2 separate regions of the Homo sapiens genome follow, and region 1 is linked to region 2. Evidence: promoter capture Hi-C in 16 types of primary human blood cells and fetal thymus (Javierre and others, 2016). All regions are on one chromosome and are shown on one strand. Each heading gives the region's core, a stretch centred on a gene start or on the middle of the fragment in contact. The rest is flanking DNA. Distances are from core to core; before and after follow the strand shown. Region 1 overlaps KPTN (kaptin, actin binding protein). Region 2 holds the start of SULT2A1 (sulfotransferase family 2A member 1).

Region 1 (2,700 bases), core at 120-2,619, 410 kb after region 2:
GCACATCCTGCAGGTATCCCCAGCTCTTGGGGTGGGAGGGGAGTCGACCTCAGCAGTTTCGAGCAGGGGGTGCAGGCCTCCTCCTGGGGGAGGGAGGAACTCATTTCAGGGAGGCAGTTCCTACCAGTCAGGACAACTCCCAGGAGAAAGGGGCAGCTGTGAGCGCTCACAGCAGCTGGGGTGGGGGCACCGGCCTGGTGAAGGAGATTTATTTATTTATTTATTATTTTATTTTTGAGACAGAGTCTTGCTCTGTCACCCAGGCTCTAGCGCAGTGACTCGATCTCAGCTCACTGCAACCTCCACCTCCCAGGTTCAAACAATTCTCATGCCTCAGCCTCTCAAGCAGCTGGGAAATACAGCCGCACGCCACCACGCCCAGCTAATTTTTGTATTTTTAGTAGAGACGGAGTTTCACCATGTTGCCCAGGTTAGTCTCAAACTTCTGGCCTCAAGTCATCCGCCCACCTCGGCCTCCCAAAGTGCTAGGATTACAGGTGTGAGCCACCACACCCTGGCCTTTTTTTTTTTTTTTTTGGTTTTTTTGTTTGTTTGTTTGTTTTCGAGACAGAGTCTTGCTCTGTTTCCCAGGCTGGAGTGCAGTTTCCCAGGCTGGTGTGCAGTGGTGTGATCTCAGTTCACTGCAACCTCCACCTTCCAGGTTCAAGTGATTGTCCTGCCTCAGCCTCCCTAGTAGCTGGGATGACAGGCACCTGCCACCAAGCTTGGCTAAATTTTATATTCCTTTTATATTCCTTCTAATCTCACTTCCTTACATTTGGGTCTAGGCTTTGTCCCTCCCACTAGAAATTCGCTTAAGGCCACTCCCCTTCACCCCTGTCACAGAGGCCCATTCCCATCCCACACACTGTGGTCTGCTCTCTGCCCTCCCACGTGGGCCGAGCTCCTGGCCTTTGGAGTTGCTTCACTCCAGACGGTCCCGCTGTGGTCCCACAGCTCTTCCTCAGCTCCATCCCCCTCATTCTCTTGTTCCCCACAGCACAGCCTGATTCAGGCCTCAGAGCTGGTCTTGACCCGGCTTCGACATCAAGTGGAGCAGAGGAGACGTCGGCTACAGGGGTTGGAGGACGGGGCAGGTGCAGGGCCTGCTGAGAATGCAGCCTCTTAAGCACCCATGCACCCACTCTTCCCAGACCTGGGGCGACTCATGGCGTGCTCACCTCCAGCCGCTGGTGGGGGGTGTCCTGAAGGACAGGATGCTCTCCCCAGACCTCCCCAGGGTGGTGAAGCTGTGCCCTGGGGCCCCAGCTAACCCACTCCTCTCTCTGTACGTCAATGTCCCTATTTGAAAGCAGGGATGATCCCATTCCACCCTGTCCACTCTGGATGAGAATTGGCCACCTGATGGTTATTTATACGTCCAGAAGAACATCATTTCCCAGTTGTCTCGATTCTTTTTTTCGGCAAGCATTTGGTGAGCACCTGCTGTATGCCTGGCTCTGTGTTGGATGCTGGATTCACCCAGAGGAATTGAGGGAGAGGGATTTGGGGGAGAGGGAATCCAAGGCTAGACCCAGATACAGGCCGGAGGTTAGATCCCAGGGTAGAACCCAAGAGAAAGAAATGGGGTGACACCTTAGCAGAAAGGCTAAAAGTTAAACCACTGTGGAACAGATTACGTAAAATGGAAGGGAAAGAGCTGAGGTTAGACCCTAGTGGAGAGAGCTGACATGAGACCCCAGTGGAAAGATCTAGATCTAAGGGTAGATCCCAGTGGAAAGGTAAGGAGCTTGAGCGTTTAGAGGAAAACTTGTGGGTAGAAAGGGCTGCTGTGGGAAAGCAGTGGTCCATTTGTAGCAGAGGGTCTGAGGCTAGACTCCCTATGAATAATGCTGAGGTTGGACCCCAACAAAAAATTGCTATGGCCAGATCCTGTGCAAGGGGCCAGGGTTAAACCCCAGCAGAAAGTGAGCTTAGTTCCCAGTGGAGAGCACTGAGGCAAGACCCAGGGAGAAGACCCAGGCTAGACCATGCTGGAAAGGGCTAAGCTTAGACCTAATCTAAAAAGCCTAGGGGGTTGGGGGCCCAGGGAGTGGGAGACAAGCCTGATTCTCCCAGCCTGTGGTGGTAGGAGTTGCCTTGCCTGTGGTCTTTTGTGTGTGTGTGAGAGACGGAGTCTCATTCTGATGCACTGGTTGGAGTGCAGTGGCGCGATCTCGGCTCACTGCAACCTCCACCTCCTGGTTCAAGCGATTCTCCTGCCTCGGCCTCCTGAGTAGCTGGGATTACAAGCGTACGCCACCACGCCTGGCTAATTTTTTTGTATTTTTAGTAGAGACAGGGTTTCACCGTGTTGGCCAGGCTGGTCTCAAACTCCTGACCTCAGGTGATCTGCCCGCCTCGGCCTCCCAAAGTGCTGGGATGACAGGCGTGAGTCACTGAGCCCGGCCTCCTGTGCTCCGTTCTGTATTACCAGGAGAAGGAATCAGAGGCCTGTGTCTCTAGGATCAGTGGAGGGTGGGAACGATGGAAGTCTTGTCCTCCGTCCACTGCAGGCCAGGAATAGAATCTGGGTCAGCAGGGTTGGGGGATGATCATTCCCTGGGCCGTATCCAGGCTGGGGGCAGGGGTTGGGCAGGACATCTGCTTCCTGGGGGTTCAGGGGAGAGGCAGACACCGTAGTCATTTTGGCCATCTGTCTACCTCCCGCTATGGAGGTCCACTCAGAAGTCTGACCAC
Region 2 (2,700 bases), core at 137-2,636:
TTAAGAATGAGTTTCTTGGACTTTCCCAATATGTGATTTTTTTTTCCCATTTAGAATGGTGATTTTAAATGTGTGAGTGCATGCATTATCTTATCTCAGATATTTGCACCCCCAATCCACCCCCATCTCCCTAAAGCTAGAACACTGCCAACTGATCTGTTGTATAGGTCCTTTAGAAACACATAATTAGGCTGGGCGTGGCGGATCACAAGGTCAGGAGATTGAAACCATCCTGGCTAACACGGTGAAACCCCGTCTCTACTAAAAATACAAAAAATTAGCTGGGCGTGGTGGCGGGCACCTGTAGTCCCAGCTACTCTGGAGGCTGAGGCAGGAGAATGGCATGAACCCAGTAGGCAGAGCTTGCAGCAAGCCGAGATCGCGCCACTACACTCCAGCCTGGACGACAGAGTGAGACTCCATCTCAAAAAAAAAAAAAAAACAAACAAACACATAATTAACACTTAAGGTTGGGTGCTGCCAATTCTTTGTGAAAATCCAAATATTATTAAGGAAACAGGGAGATGCCACTACCTCTTGATTTTCCATCTAAAAACATACATGTTTATGCAAACAAATCTTTCCATATTCATAGTGACTTTTCAAGTATTTGAGTCTAAAGATTTTCATCTCACATTTTTATACCGTTTAAATTGTTCACAATTATTACATACACGTCAGCCATCAACTAAAGTTGTACTTTAAAAATTTACTACAATATATACACTGCTAATATTTGTACTTACTCTTTTTTTCTCTAGAGTGGAGGTATAATTGTGTGATACTTCAGAAATACAGATAAATGATTCAAAAAGTCTCAGGGAGAATAATGTTTCTTTGATCGTGAATAACTGATTAGTAATTCTTGCCTATATTTTCCTGAGAGCATATGACAAATGTTTCTAAGGTAACAAGATGAGAACAGATAAAGACTGTGTGGTCTTTTGGATTTGGAGAGACATATTTTAATTTTTAAATGCAGTTACAAATTATAATGTATTCATATTTGTACTTTCTGTTAAAATGCACGATTGCAGGATTATTTAGATTTTGTGTTTATGCTTGATGAAAAGCTTTGTTCTTGTTTTTAAGTTTGCACTCAAACCTTAAGAAATAAATTCACCCATATTATCAAAAAAAATATTTGTCCTCGTGTTTGTTATTCGATCTTGCAGTTCACTCTCAGGAACGCAAGCTCAGATGACCCCTAAAATGGTCTCTAGATAAGTTCATGATTGCTCAACATCTTCAATCTTTTGAGTATGGGTCACATTATACCTCTCTTTATCAGCAAGTAAACTTTACAACAAACATGTGACATGCTGGGACAAGGTTAAAGATCGTTTTATCCTTGCTGTAAAAGCTGATCTGCCTGTAGCTGCCACAGCCTCCAGCGGTGGCTACAGTTGAAACCCTCACACCACGCAGGAAGAGGTCATCATCATGTCGGACGATTTCTTATGGTTTGAAGGCATAGCTTTCCCTACTATGGGTTTCAGATCCGAAACCTTAAGAAAAGTACGTGATGAGTTCGTGATAAGGGATGAAGATGTAATAATATTGACTTACCCCAAATCAGGTAAGGAGGCAGAATCGTGAACTGAGAAAGGCTGTGGTTGTGTTCCTGTCCATTCAGTGCATGATTGGAGTTCTTCCTTTATGTCAGACAGTGTACAATGCTTTAAGGGGAAGAGAGGAATGCCTAATACCATTGACAATCAGAGAAAAGGATTTAGTCAGGAAATTACACAGTAGGATGAGTGTTCAGAGGGGTAATCTAAGGTATTAGGAGAATCCACAGGAGTGAATCCCAAGGCAAATTCAGGTGTTTGTTTGGTGGCAGTGGGAGGGAGGATGGCTGAGGATGACCAATGATGTCCTGAAAGAAGAAATAGCATTTAAATGGAAATGCAAAGAATGAGTATGAAATTACTTGGGGGGAGGGCTATTTTCAGATAGGAGAATCATCAGGGCAATGGCCAGGAACCACAAAAGAGCCAGGCAATCTCAAGGGGCTGAAAGATGAGGATCATATGTCTCTGGGAGTGGGGCTGTGGGTGGAGGGCGGTAAGAGCACTGCGGATGCGGTGAGGATTGAGGCTGAAGACATTGGAAGTGGCATGGCCCTGAGAGGCCAAGAGCAATGGGAACATAATAAGAGGGATTTCAGCAAATAGCCAAAAGATGGAAGCAACCCAGATATCCACTGACAGGTGAGTGAATAAACAAAATGTGGTATATAGCTATAATGGAATGTTATTCATCCTTGAGAAGGAAGAAAATTCTGATGCATGATACAACAGAGATAAACATCAAGGACATTATGCTAAATGAAATAAGCCAGTCACAAAAATACAAATAGTGTGTGATTCCACTTACATAAGGTACCTGGAGTCATCAAGTCCATAGAAACAGAAAGTACACTGGCGGCTGCCAGGGGCTGAAGAGAAGGGTAAATGGGGAGTCGGTGCTGGCTCTGCATAGAGTTTCGGTTTTGCAACACAAAAATCCTCTGGAGATTGGTTGAGCAGCACTGGGAATATACTTAACACTTAACACTACGAAACCGTAGGCTTAAAAGTGGTTGACAGGCTGGGCATGGTGGCTCATACCTGTAATCCCAGCACTTTGGGAGGTCAAGGCAGGTGGATTGCCTGAGGTCAGGAGTTCGACACCAGCCTGGCCAACATGGCAAAACCC

What was found. Contacts are between HindIII fragments. The CHiCAGO score rates a contact against its expected background, and 5 or more counts as called.
Region 1: a contact is called between a fragment that was not itself captured here and the fragment with the promoter of SULT2A1 in region 2, in 1 of 17 cell types (endothelial precursors). The highest score is 6.6, in endothelial precursors.

The regions. Positions count from the first base shown.
Region 1 is chr19:47,473,845-47,476,544 of GRCh38, reverse strand. It overlaps KPTN (kaptin, actin binding protein), which reads left to right. Exons shown (of 12, transcript NM_007059.4): 11 at 1-13; 12 at 1,001-1,395. The coding sequence ends at 1,129. Among named protein-coding and RNA genes, the nearest start is that of SLC8A2, 3.3 kb to the right of the region's middle. The HindIII fragment of the contact is 1,285 bases long and covers 727-2,011 here.
Region 2 is chr19:47,885,001-47,887,700 of GRCh38, reverse strand. It overlaps SULT2A1 (sulfotransferase family 2A member 1), which reads left to right and starts at 1,386. Exons shown (of 6, transcript NM_003167.4): 1 at 1,386-1,579. The coding sequence starts at 1,444. The HindIII fragment of the contact is 7,780 bases long and covers 1,076-2,700 here.